Regions from separate parts of the Homo sapiens genome. Here region 1 is linked to region 2. The links are contacts of gene promoters, found by promoter capture Hi-C in blood cells and fetal thymus (Javierre and others, 2016). All regions are on one chromosome and are shown on one strand. The core of a region is centred on a gene start or on the middle of the fragment in contact, and the rest is flanking DNA. Distances in the headings are between cores, read along the strand shown.

What was found. Contacts are between HindIII fragments. The CHiCAGO score rates a contact against its expected background, and 5 or more counts as called.
Region 1: a fragment that was not itself captured here is called in contact with the fragment with the promoter of F3 in region 2 in 4 of 17 cell types (M1 macrophages, M2 macrophages, monocytes and 1 more); the score reaches 6.8 in M1 macrophages.

The regions. Positions count from the first base shown.
Region 1 is chr1:94,634,074-94,636,773 of GRCh38, forward strand. The region is part of intron 4 of SLC44A3-AS1 (SLC44A3 antisense RNA 1); the gene reads right to left. LOC105378861 (a long non-coding RNA gene) reads left to right here. Exons shown (of 3, transcript XR_001738160.3): 2 at 1,718-1,808. Among named protein-coding and RNA genes, the nearest start is that of MIR12133, 92 kb to the left of the region's middle. The HindIII fragment of the contact is 1,100 bases long and covers 712-1,811 here.
Region 2 is chr1:94,540,413-94,543,112 of GRCh38, forward strand. F3 (coagulation factor III, tissue factor) reads right to left here and starts at 1,347. Exons shown (of 6, transcript NM_001993.5): 1 at 1,125-1,347. The coding sequence starts at 1,224. It overlaps LOC124904223 (a long non-coding RNA gene), which reads left to right and starts at 1,562. Exons shown (of 2, transcript XR_007066234.1): 1 at 1,562-2,700. RefSeq lists a silencer at 1,267-1,546. The HindIII fragment of the contact is 2,211 bases long and covers 80-2,290 here.

The DNA.
Region 1 (2,700 bases), core at 12-2,511, 94 kb after region 2:
GGTGCGAGGCTTAGCTTTTTTCCTCTGGCTCATTGTGTTCGCTCAGTTATTTTCCCAAAGGTGGGGGCCTTATTGTAGTACTCTTTTGTTTGTTTGTTTGTTTGTTTGTGACAGTTTCACTTTTATTGCCCAGGCTGGAGTGCAATGGCGTGATCCTGACTCACTGCAACCTCCGCCTCCTGGGTTCAAGTGATTCTCCTGCCTCAGCCTCTCAAGTAGTCTCAGTGGGATTACAGGTGCCCACTGCCACGCCCAGATAATTTTTGTATTTTTAGTACAGACAGGGTTTCACCATGTTGGCCAGGCTGATCTCGAACTCCTGGCCTCAGGCGATCTGCCCACTTTGGCCTCCCTTCCAAAGTGCTAAGATTACAGGCGTGAGCCACTGAGCCCAGCCTGTACTCATTTTTTGAATCCTGAGTGCCAAGCCCAGTGCTAGACACACTGTAGATTCTCAATAACTGTTGAACAAAACGAATCTTCTTCATTGTACCCCAAGTCAAAGGAGGACTTTAAACACATAAAGAAATAACAGAGTTTGGCGTGGTGAGGATGTAGAGCATTTCAGGAGGAGGTGATGACCAGCATGATAAGCCTGGCATTAGGCCAGGTCCTCGTCCCAAGCAAAAGGTAAATGTATCAGTTGAGCAAAGGTTTATTCTATTTTATTTTTAAATTGAAGCTAATCTCTTGATAAAACAAAACAAAAAAAGCTTTCTGGTCCCTTTTTCCTTCTAGTCACATTCACACGTGACTGTCTTTTCTCACAGAATAAATCAGTTTAGCTAGGAAGACTGTTTTAAAATAGAAATAAATGCACTTTATATCAACATCACTCTGAGAGAAAAATAAAAGCAAACCATCACAAGTTCGAGCCTGTCCAAACTGGGATAAGAACGATGGAGGCAATAAAATTATAGGGAGAAGGGAATTCAGGCACAGGAACAGGAGTCCAGGCCCCCAGGGCATCACTGGGGATTTCTGTATGGGAAGGCCCCCTCATTCTTCCTGCTGGGGCTGAAACAGCTTGTGGTTTGCAGTCCCGCTGGGAGGGGGCAGAGAGATCAGAAACCAGACTGGGAGCGGGGAGCAGCTGGTTATCATGAACCATGTATCAGGCATTACACAGACCAGCCAGGTCCCTAATCTCTCCTTGTCTCATAAAAATCAGCCCTCTACAGACCTTATGAGAGAGTGAAAAAAGAGTTGATGTTGAAAACAATACTCAAATGGAAAGCTAGAGGGCTGGATTTTGGATTCAACCCTGCTGCTCCTTGATTGTATGATCTTGCTGGACTTACCTCAACTCTGAATATCTGTTTCCTCATTTGTAAAATAAGAAGCTGGAACTAGATGAGGTGTGTTAAATCCCAAGAGTATTTTGTAATTTTGTAATTTTCAGTGTACAAGTCTTGCACTTCTTTTGTTAAATTTATTCCTGAGTATTTTATTCTTTTTGATGGTATTGTAAATGGAATGCCCATTTAGGGAGTAAGGGAGTAGAGGAGTGCCCCTTTACTGTATCTCATCCATGGCAGCATGACTAATCAATCGCCCCCCACTGTCCTTCCAACAAGTTGCCTGAGCTCCTTCACAGACCAGTGTTGCACAGAACCAACACCAATCATTTGGAACTGGAGTGCAAAATACAGCTTACTTGCCATCCTCGAACAGATGTACAAGGCTTTCTTATGTGATTCTAAATCATTTTCTCTAGGTTTGTGCAGGCTTCCCACTGCAGCTGCCATGCAGCAGAAACTGAATGATTCCATAAAGTCAAGAAATAACCATGATGGCTCTTCGTAAGCGTAAGCTTGGTGAATACTATTATTTTGGTAGAGTATTATTTTGGTAGAGGACTCCCAACACTGCCGTCATGCAGTGAGATCTTGCTGAAGGAAGGGGATCTCATGGGATTGGGGTCTGGGAAGAGGTTTGAAAAGATAAGGAAAGTTCCACTGAGGACTAGAGGAAAGGGTAAAATGACAATACCCTTCTTTGTGGGTCACTTCATAGTTTACCAAGTATTCTCATGTCCACTGTTTGCTTGTGCTTCAAGTCAGCCTTTTGAGGTAAGTGTCCTTATCATTGTTTCTCAGAGGAAGACATAGAGGTTCACAGAAATTAGGTAACTTATCCAAAATCACATAGCTACTAAGGAGTAAAGCCTGGGCCTTCACTAAATATGTAAATGTTGCTTTCGGCATCTGGCCATGACCCTCCCTCTCTACCGCAAGTCTCTCTAGCAAGCTGCTTTCCAGAGAGGCAAAGCTGTTCCAACAATCATGGTTTGACAGAAGTCCCTGACAGAACAGAATATCACATGAGTGATGGCAAACCTTTTTTTTTTTTTTTTTAAATATACCTTGGCTTGACATTAGAGTAGTAATAAGCTCTAAAAACAGTAAATTCATCATGATTCTTGCCCACAGGATGAGAGAGCATGCATGGAAAAGAAACATTCAAGTTTGGAATCAGAGTTTCCAATAACTAAGGTTTTGGAATCACCCAGAATATCCATAAGCAGGATTCCCCCTAGATTTGTGATCTTATTTCCAGGGAATTCCTGGTTTGGATTATAAGTGAAAGTCAAATCTGTTTCTGACCAAGTTTTGGCTTTGATATCCTTAGTGAGGTACTCCCTTTTCCCAGACCCCCAGGAATTTAGCGCCCTAGTCCTGAAACTGGTGACTGGGAACA
Region 2 (2,700 bases), core at 97-2,596:
CACTCGAATGTATTGATGTATAAAACACCTTCCCACCTGACATCACCATAAACCTCACTTTTTATTTTTCAACCACAAAAGCTTCATTAGTGAATTATCAAGAGAAAAAGAATCTTCAAATTTTTTCTAGACCTAGAATTTCTTCATGACAAGATTCACCTTGTAATCCCAGGACACCGGCAAGGATCTTGACATTTTCGTTTGAAATTATTCATGGGCAAAGCCTTGTTATAACTTGACCGGGAAGAGCCCAGAGCCATCAGTGTGCCAGTCCAGGACTCAGCTCAGGAAGAGTCAGGTTCAGCCCGCCAGGAAGGGTTTTCAGTAAGTTATGGAAAAAGATAAATCCCACACGTGTGACAAGAGTTAGGACTGCATACAAATGAAAAAAGCCAAACTTCACTTTTTCCACTTTTATCTGAAATGTCGCTACACTGAAACTTCCACAGAGACCCACGGGGACGTGTGGCCTGTCACACCGTCGGCTGTATTGGATCAGGATTATTTCTTATGAAGGTCTGCTTTGCCAGTACGCAGCAGGTCCCAGTCTCTACGCCGTCCCGAACACCTCGTAGAAATACGGGGCATGCACAACGTTGTACCTGCTCCAATCTAAGCAGCAATCCAGCCCTTTTGGATTGCCTCTACCCAAACCTAGAACAAAGATGGCCAGGAAAAGACCAGGGACGCTCTTTATTAAGGGAAGATGCACATATAATGAAAGATAATATCCAAACCTCTGCACGCCAACACGTGCAGACGCAGGCACAAGTCCTATCATATTGAAGGTCGCAACTCACTGGGAAGCCCTTTCCCCAGAGTTAAAGCGGGAGCTAAAAGTCCGCTTATGCAACAACAGTCCAATTACTCGGACACCCCGAGCAAAACTCTCCAGCGGAAGGGGCAGCGGGGTCTGGGGCGCCAACTCCCTCCCTGCAACTCCCGCCGGCGCCCGACGGACTCGGTTCATTCAAGCCGGGCTGGGTGAGCGCAGCCGAGTCCCGTAGGCGCGGGGGACAACATGGGCGCCCCGGGGAACCAGGGCGAGCCCGCTGCCAGCCAGGACTGTCGCCTCCCTCCTGCGTGTGGCGCGCCCCGGGCTTCCAGGGGCTGGTGCCACTCACCTGAAGCGCCGGCCACCTGGGCGAAGACCCAGCCGAGCAGGAGCGTCCGAGCGACGGCGGTCTCGGGGCGCGGGACCCGGGGCCAGGCAGGGGTCTCCATGTCTACCAGTTGGCGGCGAGATCGAGCGGGTTCCGTGGCGCCCGTGGGGCTGGGGAGGTTGGGCTGAAGGCGCCCTGGGCCGGCCAGAGGGAGTGCGAGGGGGTGCGGGGAGCTCGCAGTCTTGGGGAGCCGGTGCCCCGCGCGCTATAAAGGGCCGGCGGCGCGCTCTCCCGCGCCTCTGCCCGCCCCCGGCGCCCGCCCCCGCCGCTCCTCCCGACTCCCCGCCCCCGGCCCGGGTCACTTGCCGTCGCGGTGGGCGGCCCCCGGCGAGTCCACACCCCTGCCCCGCCTCCTCCCGGTAGGAAACTCCGGGACCCTGCAAGGGATGACTCACCCCAGTGATTCAACCGCGCCACCGAGCGCGGAGCTGCCCTGGAGGACGCAGGCGGGTCTAGTTGCCCGGGTCCCCCAAGGCCCCCGGATTCACCCAGGCCCGCGACTCCGACGTGCAGCTTAGGTGGGTTGCAGGTCTATGGCAGGAAAGGGAGGGCGCCTTGGAAGAATTCTTCCCTTCCATTTGGTGATAAAGTGGGAGAGGCGGCATTTACAACATTTAATAGAAAGCACGGGCTCTGGGCTCCCCTCGGGCAGCGGAGGGCATTTCCCGGATGCTTTGCCCACCTGGGGCAGAAGCTCGGGACCTGCAGCGAAGTAAACGTGTGGCTGTGAGCAGGGCCCTCTCCCAGCCACGGTGGCTTCTTCTACCCCACGAAGGTCAAGAATACCTGGCCTGCCCACCTCGCGGGGCCCTTAGCGGGTCGCACAGGAGAAAGGCGGTGGGAATGCCGGTGTCAGCCACGGTGTGACCGGCTCGGCTCACAGGTCTGAGGGTCAGTTGGCTCAGGCATCGCCCGGTACGACCAGAGATAGTGACTGAGGAAGAGCAGCCTCACATCTGGCAGTTTGCCTCTGGGAGAATTCCAGCGTGACATCTGCAGCTCTGTGGTTCCAGAAAGGATGGTTCCCACATTGAAGAAGACATCTGTGGGACTGAGTTCCACCGAAATGCAGAGGAACCAAAAATGAAAATGAAAAATGTAACCAGAGTTGTGTGCCACTAGTTTTAAGCTTTGGTTTTTCTAAATTATTTTCTGGCTTCTCCTTCTGGGCTTTGCTGTAAACTTGCCAAGCATGAGAACAACTCTTCATCTATTGAGTGGCATTTTAAGCCATCCTGTCAAAGTATCTCCTGTCATTTTTATTATTATTACTCTATATTGCCTGCAAGACACGACTGGAGAATTCTTAGTGTAAGAATTGTTTGTTTCCTCTCTCCTTCTTTCCCACGTTTTCCCAGGGAAGTCAGTCTTGCATTTTAATGCATACTATATACATATCTCGTTTAGCTTACTGAACCACTTGTTTTAACAGAATAAAACTGTGCAAAATTTTAATTTTCCTCCTTTGCCTGAACTGAAATAGCACATCCAGGTTTAGCCCTTGTAGACTTTCCTTCCTCGAAGCAGAAAGTTGCCC